7 separate regions of the Homo sapiens genome follow, and all the other regions are linked to region 1. The links are contacts of gene promoters, found by promoter capture Hi-C in blood cells and fetal thymus (Javierre and others, 2016). All regions are on one chromosome and are shown on one strand. Each heading gives the region's core, a stretch centred on a gene start or on the middle of the fragment in contact. The rest is flanking DNA. Distances are from core to core; before and after follow the strand shown.

Region 1 (2,700 bases), core at 10-2,509:
TCGGGAGGTTGTGGCAGGGGAATCGCTTGAACCAGGAGGCTGAGGTTGCAGTGAGCCGAGGCTGCGCCACTGCACTCCAGCCTGGGCGAGAGAGTGAGACTCCGTCTCAAAAATTAAAAAAAAAAATCCAGTTGGAGAATCAAAAATTTTTAAAAATTTGACTGTGTAATCCTACAAGAAGTAAGTAGCTTGAGAAAGAGAAATGCTGATAAAGTCGCATTAAGTTTCAGAGTTGAAATTCAAGCTCCTGTATCTAACATGTTTCCCTGTTTAAGGTAGAATTTAAAAAAAAACTATATATGACATATATATGTCAACCCAAAAAAATAAAGCAGTATATATTATATATATAAGAATATATATATATTCTCCTTTATATGTTTTTTGTTTCACATATATATATAAATATATATCTCAACCACAAAAAAATTTGGTTTGTGACAAAGATGCACTTATTTGCACGAACCTATCTTGTTAATGATCAAGAAATCTGCTTTGTTACAATCATTAGAGGACAGAAATATACATACATATTTAAATCTATTTAATGAAATGCAGTTTTATGTTAAAAATCAATGATCTGCTAACCTAAAGAGTCGCACAGGAATACTATGATTATTAAACACAATGCGATTCTCTAAATAAGTAAACACGTGCAATGATATCAAAGTTCAAAATTCTCTAATTCTTCCACAAAGACTATGAAAATCACCTTGGAGTGTATGAACCAGCGTCCTGGCCCCGCCAGGTCGGGGCTGGGGCGGGCGCGGGCCGGGAGCGCTTACCCCGCGGCAGGAGCGATTCAGCGCCACTACCTGCTTCGCCTGGTTGTGGTGTGGCTGCTGCGCCAACCGAAAGGCCTCCTTAATCCGCAGCAGTCTCTTTTCGCTCCCATGGCTCTGGGACTCTGTCCGGACTAGCCCTGTCCGCGCTCGGCTACATCCGGCCCGCCCACCAGCTCAGAGGCAGAGTTCTCCGCGGTGTCTCCTAGGGTTTCTTGTCAGAGGGCCCCAGGCGCCTAGGGAGTCGTTACCGCCCTGGCATTCAAATAACTCCCGCGAGAGGCGGAAATCCCGCGAGACTGCCGACAGAGCGTAGGGAAGTGGAAAAGTGGAGCCTGCACCGCCCGCTCCCGGCACCCCCGGACACCGCCCCGGTCTCACGCATGCGCAGAGGGCCGATCCAGTTCTTTTCGGCTGGAATGGGGAATTTGTGAGGTAGGCCGGAAGTGGTGTTGCGGAGGGAAGTGTGGGGAGAGCAGAGGCGCAGCTCTGCTGGAGAGACCTGAGGCTTGCAGCGCTGGGCCCGGCCGGGTCGCTGCGGCTGGGCTGGAGGTGAGGCGAAAGAAGGGCATCCTCTGATGGGAGTGGACCGGAGTCCGCTAAAGCGAAGCATTCCAGGGTTCGTTGCGGGAAATACAGTCTGGTTTTGCCCCCCGTATGAATTGAGGGAAGGTGAGAGCAGAAGCAATCCGGGCCTGAAGGGCGATTATTCTAGGGTCGGCCGAGGGGTTCAGGCCAAAGTTCATTGAAATCCTAGCTGGGTCCCTGGAGGACGAGAAAACCGGTCAGGAGTCTCCTGGGAAGAGGGTCATGTTTTAATCTAGCTAAAGCTGGTACCTGGCAGTTTCCACTCTTAAGGCCTAGTGTACTAACTAATGTGTGCGCAATGTCAAAACAGGAAACAAAGGGAAATGCAAGAGGTGGAAGGTAATTTTAAGTTAGTGGCAGTATGACAGATTTCCAGTGCCTTCAGGAAGGTATCCAGCCTTAAAGATGCTTTTTTTAAATAGACGATTTTAGACAGAAAAAAGGTAGAAACAAAACTATAACACATGTGTACTCACCACTGAATTGGAGAAATAAATGATTATATAAGTGATTGAAGTCCTTTGTCAGCTCTACCCCGTCTCATTCTCTTTCCTTTTGCCTAAGGAAACCACTCTCCTAACCACCTTTATGCAATCTGTAATGTGTACATCTTTTTGCAGCTAGCTTGTTTTACATAATGTTTTTGAGATTTGTCAGTGTTGTGTAACTCCACCTTATTCATCTTAATAGCTGAACAGATATTCTGTTATTTTAATATGTCACTGTTCATTGTTTAGTATCTCCAGTGCCTGACATACTTTAGGCACTGTAGGTAGCTAAATGTTAGTTGAATGCATGGCTGCTGTAGCATTTGAACTAAGTAGAAAAGAATAAATAGGACTTCATGTGACCCAACAAGAGTATTCCAGGCAAAAGGAATACTAGCCAAAAGCAGAGACATGAAAGTGCATGAACTATTTCAAGAATTTCCATACTTTTAGTACTGAAATGTAGAATGTATGGAGATCATGTGATGAAGGAGAAACCTGGAAAGATGAGGCTTAAGCTTAAAGGATATTATCCTGAAGAGCTTACACAAGCTCGGCGCCATTAAATGCTTTTCCAGTTATGAGGAAGCTGATTAGAGCTGTATTTTCAGAAGATGATACAGCGCACTAGAGATATATCTTAGGATATAAAAGATTAGTGACGGGGAATTTTAGACTATCAAGCATTGTAACAATAACAATCATTGCATTAAGCAAGTAAGACAACCAGCCAGACTAAAAATCCAAAAACATTTTCCTAGTCCATCATATTATCACATTCCTTAACAATTATTAATATTTCATATTTTCTTCTGACAAACTTGCAACATTTTCTACTTCGG
Region 2 (2,700 bases), core at 115-2,614, 680 kb before region 1:
AGGACAGCCTCAAGTATTATTTTAGAAATAAATTTCATAAGGCTATAGCTGCCATAGTGATTTCTCTGATGGATAAGGGCAAAGCAAATTGAAAACCTTCTGGAAGGGATTCACCATTCTAGCTGCCATTCAGAATATGTGTGACTCATGGGAGGTCAAAGTGTCAACATTAACTGGAGTTTGGAAGAAGCTGATTCCAACCCTCTTGGATGACTTCGAGGGGTTCAAGACTTCAGTGAAGGAAGTTACTGCAGATGTAGTAAAAATAGCAAGAGAACTAGAATTAGAAGTGGAGCCTGAGGATGTGACTGAATTGCTGCAATATTACAATAAAACTTGAATGGAGAAGGAGTTGCTGCTCATGGATAAGCAAAGAAAGTGGTTTCTTGAGACGGAATCTACTCCTCATGAAGATGCTATGAACACTGCTGAAATGACAAAAAAGATTTAGAATATTACATAAATTTAGATGATAAAGCATTAGCAGGTTTTGAGAGGACTGACTAATTTTGAAAGAAGTTCTGTGGACAAAATGCTATCAAACAGCATTGCATGGTACAGAGAAATCTTTCATGAAAGGGAGATTCAATTTATGTGACAAACTCTATCTTTGTCTTAAGAAATTGCCACAACCACCTCCGCCTTCAGCCACCACCATGCTGATCAGTCAGCAGCCATGAATGTCGAGACAAGACTCTCCACTGACAAAAAGATTATGACTTACTGAAGGCTCAGATGATCATTAGCACTTTTTAGCAGTATTTTTAAATTAATGTGTGTATATTTTTCAGAATAATGCTACTGTGCACTTATTTAAATGTAATTACAAGTTATGTTTAGACTATAATTGAGAACTTATGTTTAGAGTATAATATACTGTAAACATAACTTTTACATGCACTGGGAAACCAAAAAATTGGTGTGACTTGCTTTATTGGGATATTTGCTTTATTGTGGTAATCTGGAACAAAACCCACGGTATCTCTAGGTTATGCCAGTAATTTAAAGGTAGGACAAGCAACATGTTCTGATGGCTTGGATATGATGCAAGAAGGACAGAAGTGGATTGAAGTGAAGAATGACTCCAGGGTTTTTGGCCTGAGCAACCAGAACAATGGAGCGCCACAGGGATTGGGCCTAGTGAGGCAGGGAGTTTAATTTTTGACGTGTTTAATTTGAGGTATCTATGAGACACTCAGTCAAATGGGCAAGTCGTTCAGGCAATGTAAAAGCAGAAAAAGAAGGCAGTAGCTAAAGGAGGGAGAATATAAGGTCAAAAGGTTTTGGCTTTACTTTTCAAAGGTGAGAACTAGTAAAGCAAGTTTTTGTGCACATGGAAGTGTTTCCTGGAGAGGAAAGAGGTCATGATGAAGGACAGAGAGAGAAAACTGTTGGAGCCCATGTCTTGAGTAGGTTAGAGGTAGGATCTGCTCCGCCAGTGGAGAGGCTGGCCTTAGACAGGAGTATGGGCAGATGGGCCATCCATTGTATCGAGAGGGAAGGCAAGGTGTGCAGGGACAGATGCAGGGAGACTGTGGAAGTTTTCCTGTGGTTGCTTCTTTTTTCTCAGTGAAATAAGCATGTAGCTCAGCAGCTGAGAGTGCTACATGCTAGCAGATGCATGTAGGAGAGATGTGACAAGAGGTTTTCAGATTGAGCAGAATGTTTGAAATGGTCTAGGACAGTGGTTTTTCAGTTCATAATCTGATAGAGGGTGTTAAAACCAACTTTGTAATTTGAGATCAAACGTGATTTTAAAATGAAAATAGAATTATAAAAAGGAGTTTGTTGCATTATTAAAAGAATTGCTTAATAGCAGCTTTATTTCAGTTGCATGAGTGTGTACTTGCACATATATTGGGTTGTAGCAAAAATACTTTTAAAAATACTTGCCCAGGACAGTGGGAGTAAATGAATAAGGGACTGTCAAATACAAAGTCAAGGTCCTAGTTAATGATCATGAGTCAAAATATTTTCATGTAAAAAACCAAAAAAATCATTGAATGGACTCATAAGATCTTGGCATGGAAACTGCTAGAGGACCATAGTCCCTCCTCAGTATTTGCTGCTCCTTCTCCCTACCCCACTCCACTCTCCACCCTAGGAAACCTTTTCATTTGAATATTTTCAATAAGGGCAAGATCACCAGCTTACAAGATGTCAGAAAGTAACTTTCTGCTCTAAAAAAATGGGGCCCTCACAAAAGTAGTGAGTAGAGGCCCTGGCAGGATTTGGAATTTGGTGTATTTAATATGAAGTTTGACATTATTATGTAATAACAAACTTGATGGCTTTTCCCCGTTTCAGAGAGCTCTAAATCCTCTAAGACAAAACTAGTACCAGAGCACTAAGAAATCTTGTTTTTGTTCAAAACTCTAGCCCAGAAAGGCACCAGTTAGCTTTTAAAAGTATGTGCTCTCTCCTCTTTACTAACTGCGGTGTTAGTGGATAATTGAGCTAAGGTTTATACCTGTATTTTCCCCCTATTTCAAGATTTGTTGTTGGATCTGCAAATGATTCCAATCAAATACAACTGTACTTGGAAAAAAATCATCCGTTGTTAAGACTTTACATTCCTTAGTTGCAGAAGTAGTTTTTTTTCCTGCACAATACCTTTTAAAAAATGAATATTTAATATGTCAATATATACTCTGAAAATAACCATTTATATTTTAAATTCTGAGCTCAGGTTATTTTCTA
Region 3 (2,700 bases), core at 28-2,527, 700 kb before region 1:
TGAAAAGGTTAATATTAGAAATACATGGCATATATAACAATATATTACATAATATAAAATATATATTGTATATAATAGAAATAGATATATAATTTAGTTTCAAAGGTATTTTTAACAGACCGAATGGAAAATTGGTTAAATTATTGAGATTTTAAGAGTTTTAGCATGTATATACAAATAAATATATTCCAGAATGCTGATAAATTAATTTATGACACAGATTAATTTTAATGCATGGTAGTTACAACTAAGAAAATGTGGTTTTACCTCATACATTGTCTCTGCAATTTACTAGGTGTGTGAACTTGGGCAAATTATATATAACCCCTTGGTTCCTCAATTCCCACATCTGTAAAACACCAATAATTATACCCTATCTAATCATGTTGTCATGTGAAATGACAATAATGTGTATAAAATATATAGTACAGTGCCTGAAGTAAACCATAAATGATTGGTCTGTACAGTGGTTCTCAACCCCAGATGGATATTAGAATCACCTGGGGAGTTTCTTGAATACTGATGTCCAGGCTTCACCTAAAGCAATTACATCTGAATCTCTGGAGGTGGGGCTTAAGCCAATAACAATTTTTTTAAAAATTCATCACATGGGCCAGGTTCAGTGGCTCACACCTGTAATCCCAGCGTTTTGGGAGGCCAAGGCAGGAGGACTGCTGGAGCCCAAAAGTCGAGACCAGCCTGGGCAACATGATGAGGCCTTGACTGTACAAAAAATGTTAAAAATTAGCCAGGCATGGTGGAGTGCACCTAAAGTCCCAGCTACTTGGGAGACTGAAGTAGGAGGATTGCTTGAGCCCAGGAGATCGAGGCTGCAATGAGCCTTGTTCGGGCCACTGCACTCCAGCCTGGGCAACAGAATGAGAACTTGTCACAAAACAAAACGAAAACAAAAACAAAAACAAACAAACAAAAATCTCCCTCACTTTATGATTTCAATGTATATCCAGGGTTGAGAACTACTGATCTATAATAACTATCATGTATCACATATGGGCATGTAATGTTTGTATATGTGAATTATATTAACATAATATAGTGTCATGTCTATTAAACAAGTGGTGAAAAGAAATTAAAAATCTGTCCAGTGATTTAGTTTGAAAAAAATATATAAATTGGAAGAGTAGATAAATGATAATCAGGCCTAAGATCTCTGGAGTAGGTTGCCTGTGCACAATTACCACCTCCCACATTCACTAGCTTATAACTTTGGGCAAGTTACTCGACTACTGTTTCCTTATTTATCAGCTAGGGATAATGAAGATGCCTATCTCTCATTGCATTGTTAGTAAAATGCATATAACATTGTCTGGCATATCACAAGTATTACATATTTATGTTTTGGGAAATTTGATGGAACTGTTGCTGGGAATGTAAATCAGGTTCAACCATTGTGGAAAGCAGTATGGCAATTCCTCAAAGAGCTAAAAACAGAACTACCATTAGACCCAGAAATCCCATTACTGGGTATATACCCAAAAGAATGTAAGTCGTTCTATCATAAAGGCACATGCACGTGTATGTTCACTGCAGCACTATTCACAACAACAAAGACATGGAATCAACCTAACTGCCCATCAATGGTAGACTAAAGAACATGTGGTACATATACACCATGAAATACTATGCAGCCATAAAAAATGAGATCATGTCCTTTGCAGGAACATGGATGGAGCTAGAGGCCATTATCTTTAGCAAACTAACGCAGTCAGAGAAAACCAAATGCCACATATCCTCACTTACAGGTGGGAGCTAAATGATGAGAACACATGGACACATAGAGGGGAACAACAGACCCCTGTATCTACTGGAGAGTGGAGGGTGGGAGGAGGGAAAAGATCAGGAAAAATAACTAATAGGTACTAGGCTCCATACCTCTGAAATAATCTGTACAACAAATCCCCATGACACGAGTTAACCTATGTAACAAACATGCACGTGTACTCCTGAACTTAAAAGATAAAAAAAAGAAATTTGATGAAAATAGGTATTTGGAATGAATATTACCAGTAGTTAATATTCAATCTCAGTAACATACTTTTGCATTAGAACTGAAAAACAGATGCTATACCAAAGGTCTGGGGTAACTGTGAAGAAACATTCTCTAGACCTTATATGAAAGATCAAACGGATCCTCATTTCGTATTAGTTATTTGTCATCATAGAAAATAATAATGTTAATCTTGCCAGGACCTATATAAAACACCATAGAATATGTTAGTAAAAGTATCCAGCATCCCTGAAGCCCTGAATCTCAGATACTAGATGACAAACTGCTGGGAATGTTCAAATTATGTAACCATATACAGGTCCTGTGTTGGGTGCAGGTCCTGGAAGTGGATTTTCAGTGATGAATCCCTGTCTCGACTGGCTTGATTTCCGTTACTTCTCCAGCCTTGTTCAAATGGCCTCACCTCACCCCTTTGCTCCATCTAGGCAACACCCTCTTCCCTTTCTATAACATTTCCTACTATTTGTCTCCTCCAAGGCTTGGCTATTCTTGCCGATACCTCTTTCTAGAATGTTCTTCCCATTTCCCTCTATCTCACCCCCAACCTACACATCTTTTAAGATTCAACTCAAGTACTAAGCTTTTCCAATGAAGCCTTTCCCCAATGCCCCAGGTTGAAGTAACAATTCCCTCTTTTTTACCTGCTTACACCATGAACAGAGGGCCATTTA
Region 4 (2,700 bases), core at 27-2,526, 650 kb before region 1:
TTTTCAAATCAGTTAAAAAAATTTTTTTTCATTTGTTGAGAGACAGGGTCTTGCCCTGTTGCTCAGGCCGGAGTGCATTGGCACAGTCATAGCTCACTACATGCTCAAACTCCTGGGCTCAAGTGATCTTCCTTTTTCTACCTCCCAGCTAGGTGGGACTACAAGCATGAGCCACCATGCCCAGCCTCTAAATGGGTTTTAATGTACTATTCTAATAGTCTATTAGAGATTTAGGAATTTGAGAAAAATCCTGTATTTTATAATATAGACTAAAAATAATGGTCATCCTTGCTATTGGCATTTATCAAATAAGTGTTATGATGTAAAAATGCTGGATAAACCACAGAATGTTTCATGCATACCTTTTTTCTTCTCCACAGCAGTTTGTAATACTGTTGTCCCTTCTGCATTTAGTAAATAAAAAACTTTCGAATGAAGAATGACTCAGAGGAAATACTATGCCACTATACTCATCAGCTTTAATTTTTTTTATATTTTTAATCATTTATAAACTTTGAAGAAGTTAAATTTTCAATAATATTTGTAATATAAGATGTTTTCATTAAACTAATTTATTTAAATATGACTTTATAAAGCCACATTGGCAAGTTGAGATGAATTTTTCTGCTTATTTTTTATTTTAACATTTTAATTGTTTTTGATTTAGGAATATGAAATTCTCTCAAGTTTTATTTTTGACAGATCTATAGATAAAATTACAAACAACTTTGAAAAAATTTAAAAATTCACATTTCATATTAAATTTGCAAGACTAGGATATGATAGATATATTGTTTTTACATTCCAAAAATAAATAAGCTTTATTCTATTGGCATTGCTCCCAAATCACATTGTATTCTTATGATCTAGGAACTAAGGTTAACTTTTTGTTTTGCTTTCAACTTCCAAAGATAATTTTAGTTAATATACTTTTAGTTGAACATAAGCTTTTTAGTTCTTAAGAAATATACTGTGCTCAATAATTTTCTCTTTATGCTGCCTTTGTTGTTGTTTTTTGTTTTTTTGTTTTTGCTTTTCAAATAACTCCATAATCTTCAAACTCACCTTTCCTGTCTTTTTAAAGGTCGATTGAGCTATCCACATCCAGGAACTGACAATCTGTTGATGTTAAATGGTAAGTTTTATAAAAACATTTTATGTTTCCAGTTGATTTATGTAAAGATGATTTAATACATGTTTCTCTGAACCTGTCCATACACACAATTTAATCATTCTATGAGCATAAAAATAAAGTTACAACTATTCCTATGCAAAAGGCAGAATTAGGAATCTGAGTGTGTTCGGGCTGGTAAAGCAGCCATTTGTAACAGTATGACTTTAATTCAGTGATCACGGACTTGGAGGCAGTCCTGGTTTGAATATTGCCTTTCCAGTTTCAGGTATGACCTTGGACAGATTACTATTACCTTAGTTTCCCCATCTCTGTAATGAGAATATAGTCTCAAGGTTTATTGTGAGATTTAAATGAAATGTTTGCAAAGGCATAGAACTTGTTACTTAGTATAGCATTGTGTTTGTGGTTAAATAAGGAATATACTGGTAACTCTATAAATATTGTGATCACACTAAACTTACTCAAACTAGAAAGCTTACATAGAGAAGTTCACCAAAGTAAGGAAAATAATAAATAAATTTCATTAAAGTTAGTTTTCTTTCTGTTAGACAAACATTAACATATTCAGAGTCTCAGTACTTAGCACTTCCGTGATTGTGGGAGTAGAGATGGAAGATTAAAATATCCTTCACAGGAGTATTTTTAAGTCAGAGGGTGGGTGTGGAGAGGGAAATAGGAAGGGGAAAGAATAGAAATAGTATTAATATTTACTTTAAAAAAATATCATTAGAATGGCTTGGCTCTTGTATTTCAACTGAAGGTTTGCTGAAATAAGATGGCAATGAAGTTGAGGAACAAAGACTGAAAATAAGGTACATGTGAAGCTAGACTATGTGAACTAATATTAAGACAGAAGGATGGAAATAAAGTCCAGGCCACGTAGGAGATGGTCAGGGTAAGTAGGATTCTCAATGAGAAAAATTGAAGAAGGCAGAGCATTAGATGAGGTGATTGATTTAATCATTCAGTATTTCACTGTTTAGTTGTCTAGCGCATGCCAGTCTAGTCTAAGCACTCGGTTATCTAATTAGTGAGAATCCTACAGGATGGTTGTGGTCAGAATTGCCTGGGGCCATACTGAGTCATGTGGAAGCAAAGAGCTTAGTAGCCACAGTGTATTTGCAACTTACATTATTAGTTATACTAAACATTATTAAACTAATGGATGATTTTGTCAGTTGGGAAAAGCCCTTATAAATAATCTAGATGTTAGGTTGAAAAGTGTTTCATCACATGGCAGAAAGAAGAGTATTTTATTTCAGGCAAGAGTTGCATCTTGTGGACAAGTCGGCTTTGTGTATTATGTGAGTAGTCTTAGTAGTCATTTGGGGCCACAATGCATACTCAGTACAGGAAGCCAGCCTGGAAATTCTGAACTTTTTCTGGCAAGGTACTAGCGGGGAGAAAAAGATAATGAAACTAGGACATGAAAATGTGTTTACATCAGGAAAAGAAACAATTTGATCCAAAGAGAATTTTTTTTAAAACTTTTTTCGGATCATTGGTTGAGAGTGAAGCAAAATAATTGGGAATATTTGTGGGTTAAAGAAGTCACAACATAATCG
Region 5 (2,700 bases), core at 156-2,655, 670 kb before region 1:
ATTGGGTGGTTGGAAATTCAGGTTCATAGCAAGCCACGTTAATCTGATGCTTGTCTCAGTTTAGTCAATTAACATTTGACTACCTGTTCCGTTGAGGATTCTGAGAAAGTTTTATAGTCCTTTACCATTACTATTTAAAAAGTACAGTCTTTCTCCTTACAGAACTCGACTTTTTTTTTACATTTTTTATTGAGTTTTTATGGTAGAGATAAAGAAGTATTCATTCAACAGACATGAGAACTAACTATATTCTGTAATTAGATAGTCCCTATTCTTAATCAACTTAGAAGTTTAGTGGGACAGACAGGAAAATCAACAAATTAGTTATGAACACAGTATAGTGGAAGCACAGGGAAGATGGAAATATCTGGATAGATTCCTAAAATTAATATGTCATTTTTGCCCATATGGGCCATCCTATTCTCTGTTTCAGTTTTATTAATATTTCATTTATTTTAGAGTATTTTGAGTCTTTTTCTTTTCTAGAATTTTTAAAGAGACTATAGGCATCATCTAGTCTGACATGATTATTTTCTAGGAGTTAGAACCAGAGCCTAGAGAGATTTAGTGACTTCAGACGAAGAAACTAATTGCTTCTTATAAAGTGTGATATCCAGACCAGCAGAATCAGTATCACCTGGGAACTTGTTAGAAATACATACTCTCAGGTTCCACTCCAGACCTACTGAATTTGATGTGTTTCAGCAGTCTGTGTGTTTAACCAGCCTTCCAGATGATTCTGAAGCATGTTCAAGTTTAGGAACCACTGTTACAGCTCATTGATTCTTTGTGCCTCCATCACTAATCAAGGTCACTGTTCTAGAGAGCAGCTGTTATTGATGCATGTGTTTTACCTCAGGGGCCTTTCAGTAAAAATCAGTAAAGAGTACTGATAGAGTTAATTGGTGATAAAGCTGGAATAAGAGCCTCCAGTCTAGCATTCCTTCCGTCATTCAGTGTTACTTTTTACCTTTTTAAATCCCTGACAGCAACTTAGTCTACAGTACTGATTCTGAACCCCTAGCTTTAAAAAGGCTACAACCCTAATTTAAACATCAAAGTAAAGTAAATAAATGAACATATTCTTAGAAAAGCTTTTTAGGTTTTTCTTCAGCTTTCTAAAGAACTGATTCTGAATCTTCTCTGGATTGTGGACTCCTGTGGAAAACTGATGAAAGCTATAAACCTTTTCTTCGGGAAAAAAAGAAATTATGTACACACTAGTCCCCCCTTATCCATGAGTGATACGTTCCAAGACAATCAGTGGATGGCTGAAACTGCAAATAGTGCCTTCATATGCTGTTTTTTTCCAATGAAGACATATGATAAGGTTTAATTCATAAATTAGGCACAGTAAGTGATTAACAACAATAATAGTAAAGTAGGACAATTATAACAATGTAATAAAAATTATGTAAATGTGGCATCTCTGTCTCTCAGAATATCTTATTGTATTGTCCTACAGATAACTGAAATCGTGGAAGGCAAAATGCAGAAAGGGGGGACTACTGTACACCTATGAACAGTATATTACATATAATCTCAGAGACTTCTGGTCTCTCTTGAAGCTAATGGACCCAGGTTAATAAGTGCCTTATTTTGATTTCTATGGGGGCTTTTATTTCCACTTAATTTTCAGATTCTTCCTTTCCATTTTCTGTGACAGTCATTTTTTGAGAGTTTAGAATGGACTATCCTGTATCCCCCACGTATACATAAGCTTACACATGCGTGTATACACATATGTAACTGGGTGGGTGAGTATTTTGGGAAGACTCCTAGATTATTTGGAGGGCATGGGCCAGAGCTTCCTCTAGTAGTTCACCACATACCTTTTTTCAGGTACACTGAGTATGTATTGAACAGAATACAGTAGAAATTTATGGACATTAAAGAGTCAGATTCTTTCAAATAAGCAAGTGAAGGGATTGAACATTCAGCAAAGAAGATTCTGATAACAAGACTTTGGAGACTTGGTGAAGTAGCAGACTTAATGAGATTACTGTGCTTTTACTCTTCTCTCCTCCACCTGCCTATTTTGCAGGGGAGTTGGGGGAGGCCGGCTTAAAAATGCAGAGACAAATATGGAAGCACTTTAGAGAGTAATATATGAATCTGAATATTCTAGGCATTAGTCCCTGTTCTGGTTATTAGTATCTTATGCTTTTGATTTTTACCGTATAAGATGTTTATGCACTCATTATTAAATTCAGACTACTATGTCAGATAACAAAATGTTTGATAGATGTTTAAAGTATGGTGCAATTATGGAACTAAAATATTTCCTCCCAAATATTTATTTTCTATGTGCCACTATCTGTCTTCCTAAATATGTGAGAAAAGTTTTGAAATTAACCAAAAAATGCTTTCTGTGTGTATAAGATTTCAGGAAACTTTATAGAGAAAAGTAACTATAGAAATTATTTTACTGTTTTGCATTAGTATTGCCAGTAAAATTAGATTACTTTTGATAAAAGCTTTAAGAGATAAATATACTGAAAATAATGTCCTCCAATGCAAGGAACATTGTAGTTCATGAGATCTTTAGTTATTGGTATTTTTGTGGGATACAGATTAATTAGTAATAATCAGAAGTCCTATTTTATGTAAGAGAATTTAGATAGTGTTTTATAATCGCTTTTTGAAAAAACTGCATAGATTATAATGTCTTTTTTCCTCTTCTCTTCCAGGATCGAAGTA
Region 6 (2,700 bases), core at 172-2,671, 620 kb before region 1:
AATAAAAGAACAATTAAACTACCATGTTGAGTTTTAGTTTTTGAAACATCCAGATAATTTATAGCAGGAGTCCCCAACCCCTGGGCAGTGGACCAGTACTGGTGGTCCATGATCTTTTAGGAACCAGGCCACACAGCAGGAGATGAGTGGCAGGCAAGCCAGCATTACTGCCTGAGCTCTGCCTCCTGTCAGATCAGAGATGGCACTCTATTCTCATAGGAATGCGAACCCTATTGTGAACTGCACGTGCGAGTGATCTAGGTTGCATGTTCTTTATGAGAATCTAATGCCTGATGATCTGAGGTGGAACACTTTGATCTCGAAACCATCCTCCACCACCTCCATCCTTAGAAAAACTGTCTTCCTCAAAATTGGTCCCTGGTGCCAAAAAGGTCAGAGACTGCGGATTTATAGTATCTAGATCAACAAAAGTTATAAAAATAATTTGTTTCCAGATCCCACTATACAAATTTTTAAGCAATAAAAGAATCACTATTAACTGGCAAAAACAAACAAACAGAAAATTCTCATAAGACATCAAGGGAGTAAGACCCAATGTAATTTTCTTCATAGGTTCAAATACGTCCTTGGAATTTAAGTGATAGTGATTTTGTAATGGATGGTTCTCAGCCTTTGGATCCCCGAAAAACAATTTTTGTTGGAGGTGTTCCTAGGCCATTAAGGGCTGGTAAGTAGAATGTTAACAATTTTGTTTAAAAAAATCATTTAAATATGTCCTAGTCAATTTAATAAACGTTTGGAAGCTATTGTGTACATGACACTATTGGACAGAGCAGGAGCAGATTCTGCATGCACCAATTGCTGCTAACTACAGAATTTTGAAACAAATTCTGAGGCCCCCTCTTGAAACTCTCCAACTGGAGAATTGGGTACTTATCTATCAATATTAGTGCAGTAGCTAACTCAAAGCAAATCTATAAGAATCCACCTAAATACTTCCGATTTCCTAAGTGTACCTCTCTGAGATAAGAGAATTTGGGGTCTGTTTATTTTGTGTAGATCGATTCTGATATCTGAAAAAGAAATATGGGATTTTTTTCTCTTTTATCTATATTTTAATCATTAAAGTAGCACTTTAGATAAGTGAATGATGATAAACTTCTGTTTATCAATAACTAGGAACCAAAAACCTACCAAAATATGTCACAGAGGAATATAATTGTAGATGTATATGCCCACTTTGCACTTGTTAGATGGTACTGTGCACCATGTGTAGAGTGTTAGTGATTTCCATCACTGAGAACATCGTCTCCCCAGTCATAGAGATATATGTTAAAGAACTATTCATACATGGAAATACTTATAGAATATGATGACTTCTACAAAGAAGTACTATAGGGAACAGAAGAGCATGTAGCAAGGAAATATGATATCTGATATCTTGAAGGTATTTGAAGTCTGATATCTTGAAGGTATTTGTAGTTGAGCTGACATATAAAGACTGGGCAAAAGGAGTAGGATCAGGGTGGTAGCAGGGTTCTGAGGAATGTGTTTCACAGAAAGGGAACAGCTTATTTAAAGGTCTTGAGTGGAGGGAAACAGGGTGCTTTGAAGGAACTGAAAGAAGCCCAAAGTGCCTGACTTGGGATACAAGGAGTGAGGGAAGGGGTCAAATCATACAAGTCTAATAGACTAACTCGGTATTTATTCTCAGAGCAAGGGTAAACCATTGAAGAGTTTTTAAGCAAAAGAGAGACTTCATTATCTTTGCAGTTTTCAAAGTTCACTTTAGCTAATGATTCAGAGAGAGGGGGGCCAGGGTGAGAGTAAATGCGGGCAGACCAGTTTAACATCCTATTATTACAATCCAGGAGATAGACAATGGTGGCTTGGATTAGTGGTAGCAGTGGAGAAAGCCAACTGAACAGAGGTGACAGATGTTTATGAGGTAGACACAAAGACTGAATCTCATCTTTCAGTCATAAGCCACTGGGTGGATAGTGATGCCTTTTACTGAGATGGAAGGAAAACTGGAGAAGGAGCAGATAGGGAGGGAAGATTGTGGTCTTGGTTTTGAACACAAGTTTATGGCACCATTCAGAGCTCCCAAATAGAAATTTCAATTAAACCATGGTATATGGTATATTTTTTTATGTATTTTTATGGTGGTATCTGGTGTATTTTTTAAGAGAATCACTCTTTATACTGTTTTAAAAAGCTGGGAAGGCAAGGGCCAAAAGCAAAGAGAGATAAGGTTATTGCCATGAACCAGATGAAAAATGATGTTAGCATGAATCAGGATGTTAGTGATGGAGGTGAGGCAATTGGACTCTAGATATGTTTTAAAATCAAGTTTACAGGATTGCATGTGCAGTATGGAGCAAGGGAAGAATACAGAAAGAATGAAGCCAAAGATCTTGACAACTTCATCTTTTCTGTTGCTTTCTAACTGGGTCAGCAGAAACTCATTGGAGCAGGTTTAATGGGATAAGGGAAGATTATGAGTTCCATTTTTAATATACCGAGTGTGGCCAGTGCCTGTTAAATATCGAGTTGTCCAGTAGACAGTTGCATGTACAAGTCTGGCATCCATGGGAGAGGTCCACACTAGAGATAAAAATGTAGGAGCTTAAAAACATATAGATGGTGTTTAAAGCTATGATACAGGATGAAGGTACCAAAGCCAGGAGTGTAGATAGTGTTGCAAGGATTGAAAGTTAGGGTACTCTGACATTGAAA
Region 7 (2,700 bases), core at 151-2,650, 600 kb before region 1:
AGGACTCCCAAATAAAATAAACCCAGAGAGATCCACACTGAGACACAATGTAATCAAATTTTTAAAAGTCAAGGAGAATTTTGAAAATAGCAAGAGAAAGCTTGTTATATCTAAGGAAATATACATAACAGTATTGGCAGATTTCTTAGCAGAAATCTTACAGCCTAGAAGGCAGTGAGATGATATATTAAAAGTGCTGAGAATGAAACTGTCATCCAAGAATACTATAACCAGCAAAACCTGTTCTTCAGAAATGAAGGCATGATAAAGACTTTCCCAGACAAACAAAATCTGAAGGAATTCTTCACCAATAGATGTGCCTTACAGAAAATGTTAAAGGGAATTCTTCAAGTTGAAGAGGAAGAATGCTTAACATCTATTAAAAAGCATATGAAACTATATAACTTCATGGTAAAGGTAAATATATATACAGATTGAAAATACCATGACATGTAATATGATAGGTAAATAAGTTTTAGTTTGTTTAGAGGTTAAAAAGGCAAAAACAGTAAAAATAACTATAACTATAAAATATGTTAATGAATAAACAATTTTAAAAGATATAAATTGTAATATCAAGAACAAAGTGTGGGGAGAAGAAAAGTAACAGTGTAGAGTTTCTGTATGGAGTTGATACTAGCCTGAAATAGACTATTATAACCATAAGATGTTTTCTGTAAGCCCCATGTAACCACAAAGAAAACACCTATAAAATATGCACAAAAGAAAGTAAAAAGTAAATTTAAAAAAGTAAGTAAAAAAGAATCAAAGCATATCAATACAAAAAAAAAATCAACAAAGGAAAACAGCAAGAAAGGAAAAGAACACAAGAACCAAAAGACAGAAAACTAGAAAATGGCAATAGTAAGTTCTTCCCTATGAACAATCACTTTAAAGGTAAATGAATTAAATTCTCCAATTATAAATGGCTGCATGGATAAAAATAAAATTAATAAAATATAGGAACTTATTATATGCTGTTTACAGGAGACTGACTTTAGATTTAAGAACATATACAAACTGAAAGTGAAGAGATGGAAAAACATTCCATGCAAATTGTAACCAAAAGAGAGTAGCATGCCTATGCTTATGCTAGACAAAATAGACTTTGAGACAAAGCTGTCACAAAAGGTCATTATATAATGATAAAATAATTATTAAGGAAAATGTAACAATTTTAAATATGTATTCATCCAACATTAGAAGTATCTAAATATATGAAGCAAACATTGACAGAACTAAGGGAAAAACAGCAATAGTAGGATACTTTAATACCTAACATTTAACAATGAATAGAAGTTCCATATGGAAAATCAATGAAGAAACAGAGGACATAAACAATACTGTAGACCAAATGAATCCAAGAGACATATATGGAATATTCCACCAAACAGCAGAAGAATACACATTTTTTTCAAGTGCTGAATTAATTACATGTTAGGTCACACAGCAAATCTTAACAAATTTAAGAAGACTGATCTCATACTAAGTATTTTTTTCTGACCACAATGAAATGAAACTAGAAATCAATAACTAAAGAAAACTGGAAAATTCACAAATATGTAAATTAAACAAGACACTCCTGAACAGCCAGTGAATCAAATAAAAAATCAGAAGGGAAATTTGAGAATATCTTGAGAAAACTGGAAATGGAAACACAACATACCAAGTCCTTTGGACTGTAACAAAATCAGGAAAAGGAAATTATGCAGCAATAAGCACCTACATTGAAATAAGAAAGAACTCAAATAAACAGCATAGCTTTGTACCTCAAGAAAGTAGAAAAAGAACAATCTAAGCCCAAAGTTAGAAAAAAGAAAGAAAGAAAGATTAAAGCAGAAATGAACACAATAGAAAACAGAAAACCAATTAAAAAAAATAAAACTAAGAGTAGGATTTTGAAAAAGATCAACAAAATTGACAAACCCATAGCTAGAATTGAAAAAAAAAAAAAGAGAGAGAGAGAAGACTTAAATTAAAAAAATCAGAAATGAAAGAGGAAACATTTTACCTGATGCCATGGAAATAGGATCAAAAGAGGCTACTATGAACACTTATACACGAACGAATTGTATAACCTAGAATAAACAGATAAATTACTAGAAACATACAACCTACTAAGATTGGATTATGAAGAAATTAAAAACCTGAACAGATCTATAATTAGTAAGGAAATTGAATAAGATGGCTTCACTGGTGAGTTACACCAAACACTTTTAAATAAATAGATGACTTAGGATTATGCAATTCTTTTTATAATTTTTGACCCTTTTTTTGTAACTTTTAAGTTCAGGGATACAAACCTTGTACAAACAAGGTTTGTTACATAACGTAAACTTGCGTCATTGTGGTTTGTTGTAGAGATGATTTCATCACCCACATATTAAGCCTAGTACCCCATTTGTTATTTTTCCTGATCCTTTTCCTCCTCCCATCCTCCACCCTCCAAAGGGCACCAGTGTATGTTGTTCCCCTCTAAGTGTCTATTTTCTCCTCATTTAGATCCCACTTATGAGCACATGTGGTGGTATCCCAAGAGAAATCTAACCGATTTTGTAGTGTGACTATTTCAGATTCTGTTCTGATTTTTATCACTTAAATTCCTAGGAATGAGAAGACATGATAATAAAAAATATTATTCAATTATTAAAAAATTAATGCCAATCCTTCTTAAACTCTTCCAAAAACTTCAAGAGGAGG

The links. The method cuts DNA at HindIII sites, captures the fragments that hold promoters and counts their contacts. A CHiCAGO score of 5 or more calls a contact.
Region 2: a contact is called between a fragment that was not itself captured here and the fragment with the promoter of FAM200B in region 1, in 11 of 17 cell types (non-activated CD4 T cells, naive CD4 T cells, naive CD8 T cells and 8 more). The highest score is 16.5, in non-activated CD4 T cells.
Region 3: a fragment that was not itself captured here is called in contact with the fragment with the promoter of FAM200B in region 1 in 1 of 17 cell types (non-activated CD4 T cells); the score reaches 5.5 in non-activated CD4 T cells.
Region 4: a fragment that was not itself captured here is called in contact with the fragment with the promoter of FAM200B in region 1 in 2 of 17 cell types (non-activated CD4 T cells and naive CD8 T cells); the score reaches 6.3 in non-activated CD4 T cells.
Region 5: a fragment that was not itself captured here is called in contact with the fragment with the promoter of FAM200B in region 1 in 9 of 17 cell types (naive CD8 T cells, total CD8 T cells, naive CD4 T cells and 6 more); the score reaches 9.2 in naive CD8 T cells.
Region 6: a contact is called between a fragment that was not itself captured here and the fragment with the promoter of FAM200B in region 1, in 1 of 17 cell types (neutrophils). The highest score is 5.4, in neutrophils.
Region 7: a fragment that was not itself captured here is called in contact with the fragment with the promoter of FAM200B in region 1 in 2 of 17 cell types (neutrophils and monocytes); the score reaches 6.1 in neutrophils.

Annotation. Positions count from the first base shown.
Region 1 is chr4:15,680,568-15,683,267 of GRCh38, forward strand. It overlaps FAM200B (family with sequence similarity 200 member B), which reads left to right and starts at 1,260. Exons shown (of 2, transcript NM_001145191.2): 1 at 1,260-1,334. It also overlaps a transcript of FBXL5 not described here. RefSeq lists enhancers at 760-1,059, 1,230-1,469, 1,480-1,529. The HindIII fragment of the contact is 4,207 bases long and covers 1-2,374 here.
Region 2 is chr4:14,997,919-15,000,618 of GRCh38, forward strand. All of the region lies in intron 3 of CPEB2-DT (CPEB2 divergent transcript), which reads right to left. Among named protein-coding and RNA genes, the nearest start is that of CPEB2-DT, 2.8 kb to the right of the region's middle. The HindIII fragment of the contact is 4,228 bases long and covers 1-2,700 here.
Region 3 is chr4:14,980,427-14,983,126 of GRCh38, forward strand. All of the region lies in intron 7 of CPEB2-DT (CPEB2 divergent transcript), which reads right to left. Among named protein-coding and RNA genes, the nearest start is that of CPEB2-DT, 20 kb to the right of the region's middle. The HindIII fragment of the contact is 2,659 bases long and covers 1-2,607 here.
Region 4 is chr4:15,032,077-15,034,776 of GRCh38, forward strand. It overlaps CPEB2 (cytoplasmic polyadenylation element binding protein 2), which reads left to right. Exons shown (of 12, transcript NM_001177382.2): 5 at 1,085-1,135. All of the region lies in intron 2 of C1QTNF7-AS1 (C1QTNF7 antisense RNA 1), which reads right to left. Among named protein-coding and RNA genes, the nearest start is that of CPEB2, 31 kb to the left of the region's middle. The HindIII fragment of the contact is 662 bases long and covers 946-1,607 here.
Region 5 is chr4:15,014,498-15,017,197 of GRCh38, forward strand. It overlaps CPEB2 (cytoplasmic polyadenylation element binding protein 2), which reads left to right. Exons shown (of 12, transcript NM_001177382.2): 4 at 2,691-2,700. The region is part of intron 3 of C1QTNF7-AS1 (C1QTNF7 antisense RNA 1); the gene reads right to left. Among named protein-coding and RNA genes, the nearest start is that of CPEB2, 13 kb to the left of the region's middle. The HindIII fragment of the contact is 626 bases long and covers 1,093-1,718 here.
Region 6 is chr4:15,058,614-15,061,313 of GRCh38, forward strand. It overlaps CPEB2 (cytoplasmic polyadenylation element binding protein 2), which reads left to right. Exons shown (of 12, transcript NM_001177382.2): 10 at 574-688. The region is part of intron 2 of C1QTNF7-AS1 (C1QTNF7 antisense RNA 1); the gene reads right to left. Among named protein-coding and RNA genes, the nearest start is that of CPEB2, 57 kb to the left of the region's middle. The HindIII fragment of the contact is 7,637 bases long and covers 1-2,700 here.
Region 7 is chr4:15,075,844-15,078,543 of GRCh38, forward strand. The region is part of intron 2 of C1QTNF7-AS1 (C1QTNF7 antisense RNA 1); the gene reads right to left. Among named protein-coding and RNA genes, the nearest start is that of CPEB2, 75 kb to the left of the region's middle. The HindIII fragment of the contact is 2,605 bases long and covers 99-2,700 here.